Regions from separate parts of the Homo sapiens genome. Here regions 2 and 3 are each linked to region 1. Evidence: promoter capture Hi-C in human tissues and cell types (Jung and others, 2019). All regions are on one chromosome and are shown on one strand. Each heading gives the region's core, a stretch centred on a gene start or on the middle of the fragment in contact. The rest is flanking DNA. Distances are from core to core; before and after follow the strand shown.

The links. The method cuts DNA at HindIII sites, captures the fragments that hold promoters and counts their contacts. A contact is called where the count stands out against the background at its distance.
Region 2: a fragment that was not itself captured here is called in contact with the fragment with the promoter of CBR3 in region 1 in 1 of the 25 tissues and cell types used here (dorsolateral prefrontal cortex).
Region 3: a contact is called between a fragment that was not itself captured here and the fragment with the promoter of CBR3 in region 1, in 1 of the 25 tissues and cell types used here (lymphoblastoid cells).

The regions. Positions count from the first base shown.
Region 1 is chr21:36,133,158-36,136,328 of GRCh38, forward strand. CBR3 (carbonyl reductase 3) reads left to right here and starts at 1,922. Exons shown (of 3, transcript NM_001236.4): 1 at 1,922-2,324. The coding sequence starts at 2,036. The region is part of intron 2 of CBR3-AS1 (CBR3 antisense RNA 1); the gene reads right to left. RefSeq lists enhancers at 1,277-2,084, 2,085-2,891, 2,727-2,896 and silencers at 1,907-1,976, 2,407-2,576. The HindIII fragment of the contact is 7,591 bases long and covers 1-3,171 here.
Region 2 is chr21:34,882,563-34,885,748 of GRCh38, forward strand. The region is part of intron 4 of RUNX1 (RUNX family transcription factor 1); the gene reads right to left. It overlaps RUNX1-AS1 (RUNX1 antisense RNA 1), which reads left to right. Exons shown (of 2, transcript NR_186614.1): 2 at 921-2,490. Among named protein-coding and RNA genes, the nearest start is that of RUNX1-AS1, 48 kb to the left of the region's middle. RefSeq lists a silencer at 361-410. The HindIII fragment of the contact is 3,015 bases long and covers 278-3,186 here.
Region 3 is chr21:34,759,506-34,762,349 of GRCh38, forward strand. The region is part of intron 1 of LINC01426 (long intergenic non-protein coding RNA 1426); the gene reads left to right. Among named protein-coding and RNA genes, the nearest start is that of LINC01426, 15 kb to the left of the region's middle. The HindIII fragment of the contact is 3,510 bases long and covers 1-2,844 here.

The DNA.
Region 1 (3,171 bases), core at 672-3,171:
CTAGGCCAGGCACGGTGACACAAGCCTGTAATACCAGCACTTTGAGAGGCCAAGGAGGGAGAATCGATGTAGCCCAGGAGTTCAACCAGTCTGAGCAACACAGTGAGACTCCCATCTCTAAAAACAAATAAAAATAAAATAAAATAAAAAATTATCCAGGCAGGCCGGGTGTGGTGGCTCACGCCTGTAATCCCAGCACTTTGGGAGGCCAAGGCGGGTGGATCACGAGGTCAGGAGTTCGAGACCAGCCTGGCCAACATGGTGAAACCCTGTATCTACTAAAAATACAAAAATTAGCTGGGTGTAGTGGCAGCGCCTGTAATCCCAGCTACTCAGGAGCCTGAGGCAGGAGAATCGTTGGAACCCAGGATTCGGAGGTTGCAGTGAGCCAAGATCGTGCCACTGCACTCCAGCCTGGGTGACAGAGCAAAACTCCGTCTCAAAAAAAAAAAAAAAAAAAAAATTATCCAGGCATGACTGTGGCACACTTGTAGTCCCAGCTACTAGGGAGGCTAAAGGGGAGGATCACCTGAGCTCAGGAGACTGACGCTACAGTGAGCCACGACTGCAGCACTGCACTCCAGCCTGGGCGACAGAGAAGACCCTATTAAAAAAAAAAAAAAAAAAAAAAAAAACAGAAATAGAAAGCCTAAATAGCCCCATATCCTTAAAACAAGGTTCCAAATGATCTTTTTTTTTTTTTTTGAAAAGTCTCACTCTGTTGCACAGGTTGGAGTGCAGTGGTGCAATCTCGGTTTACTGCAACCTCCGCCTCCCGGGTTCAAGCAGTTCTCCTGCCTCAGCCTCCTAAGTAGCTGGGATTACAGGCACGTGCCACCACACCCAGGTAATTTTTGTATTTTTAGTAGAGATGGGGGTTTCACCATGTTGGTCAGGCTGGTCTTGAACTCCTGACCGCGTAATCCACCCGCCTCAGCCTCCCAAAGTGCTGGGATTACAGGTGTGAGCCACCGCGCCCGGACCAAATGATCTTTAGGAGAAAAAAGAAGGAAATACTGGGGGAGGCACAGTAGGAGATCACAGCAGGGGCCCACCTCCGGAACCTCAAGTAAGGACTTGAGAGAGAAGGTAGAGTCAGAGTAACAGAGACACAGGCGGGTTAGCCAGCTCTGCATGGAAAAGGCTGAGTCGTGATGATGTCATGGTTCTCCCCAAATCTCAAAGTCACTGATCAAACAACTCAGTTTACACTGAAGACGATGGATGAGACTCTAATTTTGTGCCCACAGCTTGACACACCTTTGGGAATTTGGTTTAACTTTCTTTGCCGGTACACAGATCTGTGAGAACATATGATCAATCCAGATCTTTATAGATCTATATCCTCCCTGGACAAACCTAAATGCAGACACTTTTAGCACCCGTAGGAGTTAGGTAGGATTAAATAAAAACATTCCCTCCCACTTGGGGGCACATTCACTGGGAATCCCAGAGCGATGTCGCCTGCCCACACCTGCTAAGTGCGCTCACAGGGCATCTAGTTCCCTCTCTTGAGTTCCTTTTAAGCAAGCAAGGCAACCTATGTCCAGAGAAGCAGTTACTGTGTCTAAGTAAGTCACTGCATCTTAGGAAAAAGCAAACATTCGCATTTTGCAGTGCATGATGGGCGCACACCCAAGAAAATTACTCAGCACTTGTTTTTCTCACTTTGGGGTTTTCCCAAAATAATTTCTTCAGTCCAGTTGCCAAGAATCTGGAGCCCCCGACTGACCCATCAAGGTCCGATTTGGCTTCGGACACCTCGCAGATCACCCCGCGGCTCAGAGCCCGGATCCTGAAGGGCGCAGCGTGGGCAGGGGGCGGGCCCGGGAGTTGGAACAGAGGGCACAGACGGCCCCTCCTCGGAGGGGAGGGACCGGAGCCGGGGCCTTTTTCTTTAAGACTCGCAGCACTGGATCCCAGAACTTAGTCTGCGCGGCGGCATTGACACTAGCTGGGCTCCTCGGGGCGCGCCCCAGGTGGTCCGAAGCCCGGTCCGCCCTCCACGCAGGTGCCCCGCGCTCCCCGCTCAGCCATGTCGTCCTGCAGCCGCGTGGCGCTGGTGACCGGGGCCAACAGGGGCATCGGCTTGGCCATCGCGCGCGAACTGTGCCGACAGTTCTCTGGGGATGTGGTGCTCACCGCGCGGGACGTGGCGCGGGGCCAGGCGGCCGTGCAGCAGCTGCAGGCGGAGGGCCTGAGCCCGCGCTTCCACCAACTGGACATCGACGACTTGCAGAGCATCCGCGCCCTGCGCGACTTCCTGCGCAAGGAGTACGGGGGGCTCAACGTACTGGTCAACAACGCGGCCGTCGCCTTCAAGAGTAGGTGCAGGGCTTGGGTTGGGGCCCCCTGGAGCGCTCCGAGGGTGCGGAGGTGGCCAGCCGCAGGCTCCCCACCCGTCCACTTGAGTGACCGAGGAGGGTGGCGCCGACCCCTAGGGATGCGCTCAGCCCACGCCTCCCGCGAGGCGGTTTTCGCTTTCCGTGATTCGCTGAGCCCCAGGCGGGCCCGGGCGACAAACAGCGCGCCCCGCCCGCCGGCCTGTGAGGGCCTGTGCGCGGCCCGGGGCCCTCCCCGAACTGTCAGCCGCTGTTGTGTGCAGGAAAACTGGCCTCCTGGGAGGGGGCAACGCCCTGCTAGAGTTCATCAGCTTTCCTTCCAACGCGAGAAACATTTTCTCTGCAAAGAAACGGTCTCCGCTCGCTTTGGGCTTTCGCTTTCCTTGAAAGGGCGCATTCATAGATGCCCGGAGGCATTTGCTCGGGAAAGGAAATGAATCGCTAAAACAGGATTAGCGCGCGCTTGCCCTTGGTGGACTTGACAATTTGTGTAATGCAGAGCTTTGATAGGCTCTGGCAAAAAGGAAGCGAGCCTTCTCGTTCCCCCACCCCCGCCCGGGGAGCTTATGTTTGTTATAAAATACGTGCGTGTGGTCTTAAAAGCATCTTCCTTAAGGAGAGGGGCGGGGATCAAGAGATTGCTTATTCTAACTACTACTGAAGAAAATTACAGGAGGGCGCAGTGGCTCACGCCTGTAATGCCAGCACTTTGGGAGGCCGAGGCAGGAGAAACGCTTGAACCTGGGAGGCAGTGAGCCGAGATCGCGCCACTGCACTCCAGACTGGGAGACAGAGCGAGACTCCGTATGAAAAAAAAAAAAAAGTTACT
Region 2 (3,186 bases), core at 535-3,034, 1.3 Mb before region 1:
TTTAGTTCCCATTATAAGTGTGTTTGTTGCCATTTAATTAAGAGCAGTGATACGACAATTCCCTTTTTGTTTTAAAAAGATATCACGGAAATAAATCTCCCTGATCAGTTATTTGGTTATTGCTACTGTTTTTTTTTTTTTTCTATTCCCGAAAAATGGGCTTGCTTTATTTTGCTCTTTTTAGTCTCTCACAACAAATTTTCCCCTTTTTTTCATGATTTTCACTTCCCGTTGTAAAGTTAGCTCACAGTGTTGAAATGCCCTCTTTGAACACATATTTTTACTTCCTCATCCTCCTCTCCCTGTGGTAACCCAGGCTTCTCTATTGTAACTCAACATTCAGCAGGTATACAGAGACTGCCTCCACTACGTGGGTTTCAAACTGAATAACTCATTGTTGGGTCTGGATCTGTAAAAAGGTGAAAATAAATAAATCTTCTTTTATAACTACAGGAATGTATTCTGAATTATCTGCCTCCTACTGCTGTTCCCCTCACAGTGCTCCAAGCCTGTGCCTCTCTCATCTTTCCAATACTATCCTCATTGGTAATTTGGCAAATTCAGGAGACCTTCGCCAAGTCGAAACAAACATAGAATAAAATTATCATGGAGGCTAAATAAGAAAAGGCTGTTGATGTTGGAACTTAAGAAGAAAAAAATTAGAAGTTTAACTCCCACTCCTCTTTTTTTTTAAATGCAGCAGAATCAACCATATTTGGGCACCTACATATCATTCACTTGGCCTTGTATTGATCTCTGAGGGTTTTTTTTTGGTGGAGGCGGGTGGGTAAAGGGGAACTAGTAAATCCAGGGCAATTCATTAATACTGTATATCGTCCAATTGTTAACAAGCATACTTAAGCCAGGTTTAAAAAGTTTCTTTTTAATTCAAAACTAACATGCGTGCTAATTTGATACAGGTTTTGTCACTGATGGGCAATATGGAGAGAATGTAAAAATATCTAACTTCAAACAGAAAAAAGAAACAACTGGAATGAAAAGCTATAAACAATAGGTAAGGAAACACAAACATTTACATTTTAACACAGACCAAACAGGCAAGAAGGGACTTGCTGGCCAAAGATATCTCATATTTTGTTTTACTTCTCTGTTTTTAAAGTATCAGGAAGTTGGGCCAAATATCAACTCTCTTCTATATTACATGGACCTCCCAATACTGTTCTTGGCTAGCCTGTTCACGGTCCAAACTGGCATTTTAAACCAATTCTAATTAGGTTGAAATTACAGTTACAATTCATTTACTTCAAATCCGTTAACCTTCCAGTGTTGCAAAGAAGGCTGTGGAGTGGAACACAGAATTCAGCTGAGATGATATTTAAGGCATAGCTAGGGACTGTGATCTTGCCGACAAAAATATTACTTATTTCCTTTTTATGAAAAGAATATTACCATCAGAATCCAAGACCTCCGAACTTCCCTGCTGAAGGCACGTTTACGTCTTTGGACTCTGGTGTACCAGGGCCTGAACAAGCTATAACACCATGGTATTACCAAATACATCCTAAGTCATCAAAACAGCTTTTTAGGCTAATTCTGTAAGTACAGCAAAACACACAGCAAACTTAAGGTTTTCTTAGTAGTAAAAAACATGTATCTCTCATACTGTAAAAAATAAAGGTGTTCCATGGGAGGGAAGGAGTAGGGGGAGAACAGGTTGGGGCTCAAAATAAGCAAGTAGGGTTATTGTAATCTATTTTAAAGAAAATTCATAATTTTAAATCTCTCTTTAGTTCAGAAGATTGACGTAGAGGATTTACCTACAGAACTTCAGGAGATTCCTAAGAAGGCCTTCAGTGATCTTTTCATCAATATCATCAGGCCTTATCATTGTTTCACATTTGCTTCTCTTTACCATAGGGAATATAATAATTATTTACTGGTTAACTTCCTAGGGAGATTGCCTGCGGCTTATTTAAGATCCAAATTTTAAAGTAATAATTTCTGTTGAAGCTGCTTGTGAGGTGGTTGGGTGGGCAGATAGAGTGAAGCCAGGGACACACACTAAATGAGCCCGGGATGTAGGCAGGTTTTGATGTTTTGCTTGCTTTTATCCCTAACATTTTATCCCTTCACGTTTACTGTCTCACTGAACATTTTGTCTACTCTTCTAGTTATGCAGTGAGCAGGTCTCCTCCAGGAAGAAGCCTCTTTTTATGAGGATTGGGGTGGTGACAGACAATAATCAAATGGTCTGATTTCTCTGCTATCCTTTCCTTTCCCCTAAATGTTCTCAGGGGATCTGCTTGAACTTTTTTCAAGAGCTCTGTATTTGGATTTTTAGTAGCCTATAGATTATCACTCAATAAAACAAATTAATTGTTTTTAAGTGAATTGCCAAAAGTCATTTTAAAAAGGAAACTCTATGGTTATTATGGTTTCTGCTAGAAAGAATTCTGACAGCTCATAAAAGCAATATGTATAATTTTTCATTTTTTAGAAGAAAATAAATACTTTCATGTAATGGCTTGAGACTCTGAATTGCTCCAATTCCTGAAGATTATTTATTAATCATTTAGTCTTTTAATATATTTGAGTGTGGGTTCCCTGGCAGAGGAGGGAGTTCAGAAGAGACCCTGATTTCCCCCCCAAAAGGAAGCCACAAATCTCTTAGAGCCCTAGTGCATTGGGGCAGCCAGGTTTTAATGGCCTTTGGTGGTTATCAGCCCGTCTTGCCTCTGCTCTTTATCTGATAGTGACCCCATGGCCCAACCCTGTTGGGTCCCCTCTCAATGCGGGTGCCCTAAAGAGTCATCGCTGAGTCCATTTAGGCAAAGGGTTAGAATGATTTAAAAGTAAAATGGTCTCCCAAACCCAAATCTAAGTAAACGGAGGGAGGGAAAAAAGAGTCAAGCAAGCCACCACGTTCCTTCGTTCCTTCTCCTCATTTCCACCCCCACTAAAAAACAAAACAAACAAAAAAAACTGCTTTTAGAAAAGTGAGTGGAAAAAGAGGCCAATCTATAGACACAGCCAACTGCAAATTTCGTTTTGTTTTAGAAATCACAATCTAAGTGTGGAAACTGTATAAAGCTTAAAAATAACCGCAACAATACTTTTTTAAAAAGTGAATATTCGTCGTTGTAATAAGATCAAGACCCAGCTGAGGCTTGGAACTATAAAAAGCTTATATTAAATTAATCTCCCTTTAAAGGGGACAATTATTTA
Region 3 (2,844 bases), core at 137-2,636, 1.4 Mb before region 1:
GGCTCATGCGTGTAATCCCAGCACTCTGGGAGGCCGAGGCAGGTGGATCACCTAATATCAGGAGTTCAAGACCAGCCTGGCCAACATGGTGAAACCCTGTCTCTACTAAAAATACAAAAATTAGCTGGGTGTGATGGTAGGCACCTGTAATCTCAGCTACTCGGGAGGCTGAGGCAGGAGAATCACTTGAACCCGGGCAGGGAAGATTGCAGTGAGCTGAGATTGCACCGTTGCACTCCAGCCTAGGTGACAGAGTGAGGATCTGTCTCAAAAAAAAAAAATAATAATAAGTAACTGCATAGTAGGTTTGATTTTGCCTCTTGCCCTACAACACCTGAAGTATGCACTATCTGGCTCTTCACCAAAAAGGGCTACTGAGCTCTCCCTGGTCTAGGTGTTGGTGGAGAAAATGGATGGGTTCGGATGTATTTTGGAGTGAGAGCCAGTAGGACTTTAATTTTAATGCTGGCAGAACATAGACTATGCTGCAGGGTGGGACAGAGTCACTTGATCCCTAAGACAAGTCTAAGACTATGAGGGGCCATGGTCCACCACCGTCATAGCAGGTGTCTTTCTTCTTGGTGTATGAGCTTTCCAAGGAAGTGTTATGTCTAAATCAGATTCCAACATTCAAGGGCCCAACTGTATATGCGAAGGCAATGGAAGGTCTTATGCAGAGGAATAACAACAAAATATACCTGACCCAGGTTGTCCGGTGCCAGGTGGAGGATGGACCACCTGGGAACCAGAATGGTGGTGATGAGGCCCCCAACATGGCCTAGAGCAGCCCTCCCCATGGTCCCCTCTGGGTTGAGTCTCGGGCTCCTCCCATGCCCCAGCTGAGCCCATAGGTCTCCTGTGTACCAGCAGCCTGTTGACCAGAATAAGCAGTGCCTGGCACAGGCCCTGGAGGCTTCATGTTATAGCCCATAAACAACGCCGTATTTATTGACGGATGACTATCATTGTCAAGTTTCCAGCCACCACCCCACCTTCCATAGGACCAGCAGGCTGGCTCCTGGCTGGCACCAAGAGTGAGCGGCTTGGGCATTTAATCAGGTTCAGGTAACAGGTAAGGACTGGTTCCCCAGCTAGGGAAAAACACAGTGAATATTTTGGATTGAGCCATGTGTGCCGCATCTTGCTGGAGCTTGCAGGCCCCTTGGAGGCTCTCAGACGGCTCTTAATTAATTGCTGGAGCCAAGTGGGGCAATCTTGTGAGCGCTGTTGCTTTTGCTCATCTGATCCAGCCATGCTCAGGGGAGGGTGAGGAGCTGGCCTTGGATTTAGGGGATGAATGGGGTGGGCTGGGATATGGGAGGAGCTCAGTGGCCTGGCCAAGATGGTTGGGACAAAGCTTGGAATAGCCAACCTGTTTGTCAAGCAAATGGACAGGCCCTTTCTTCCAGGCAGAGAAAGACCTTGCTTCAGCTCCCTGGCTTGGGGAGGAGAGACCCAGATTCGAATCCTAGCTCTACTACTAACTAACTCTGGGACCATGGGGCAATTAGCTGCTTTAAGCTTCACTGTCTCATCTGTAAAATGCATGCAGTGATACTACCTCGAAGGATTGTGGTGGGAATCAAATGAGATGAGGGTAATGCCATGCACCATAGTCCCTGCAAGGCCACTGGGTCCCTGTAAGGCCACTGATCAGTGGGGCATGCCAACACTAGAGGCAGTGCTAACCCTAGGAGGCGGGGACAGCAGAAGAGATCTCAGGTGGGCCCATGTCCCTAAGGGGAGAACGAGCCCTGGGCACCAGGGACATCATGCAGTGAAGATGCTGGAGGTGGGAATGGGGTTTCAAGTGCCAGGGACCATCTCCTTAACTCCTCTGCACTCATGCATGCAGCTCCTGCAAGGCTTGGCAGAGCTCGGGCTGAAGAGGAAAGGCTCCTGCCTACCCAGCCATAGGTCCCCAGTGGATGCAAAGGGAACTTTTCCTTGGTCCTGGTCCTCAGTGGAACCCGTTTTGTTTCGATTGTCCCTGACCTGGCCTGTGCTCTCGCTGCACCATCCTGTGGAACACAGACACCTGGAGAGTCAGAGCTGGCTGGATCTTTGGAAGGGCACAGTCACAGCTGCACCCGCCACTCCTTCCCATCCCAGGCTCGATACTTCAGTAATCCTTGCTGCCTGAGCTTCCCTTATGGGTCCCAGGTCACACCTTCTTTCCTCCTATTCTGTTTGCTGAGATACCTTCTCTTCAAATCCTTCTCCTATAGAGAGGTTTCCATGAGCCGTGGGATGGGATGGGTGTGGCCCTCTTCTGGGATCCAGAGCTCCATGGAGAGCCCTCTGACTTGGTTCCTGACTCCTTCTGCAGACCTTGTCTCCATCTTGCTTCCCTCCTCCATCAGTCCTCTAGGCCTTGAGGACAGGCACTGAGTCTTACTGCAGTGTTGAGGCTCCAAGATGGCAGTGATCTCCCAATAAATATTTGCTAACCTCAGCTGATTTCTTTACTTTATGATGTAAGAATTGAAGCTACAAGAGGGTCTGTGACCTGCCTAAAGTCATATGCAAATTAACCAGATCTTGGCTCCAGTAGTCTACTTTGACTCGAGTGCTGTTTCCCTTAAATCATGCAGCTTGTCAGGTCAGGTCAAGCATAGCCTGGATCTCACCACATTCTTACGGGATTGAAGGATGTAATATTAATGACTCAGTAGGCTTGGAATCAGCCAATCAGCAAGTGCTCCTTGAACCCCTTGATATGGAAGGTACAGGTAGAGAAGGTAGTAATTTTTCACAAGTCTCAAACTCAGCTATGTAGAAATATAGATTTGGTTTTCTTCCCTTATTTTTAATAGATTATACAATCATATTACATAAAAGCAA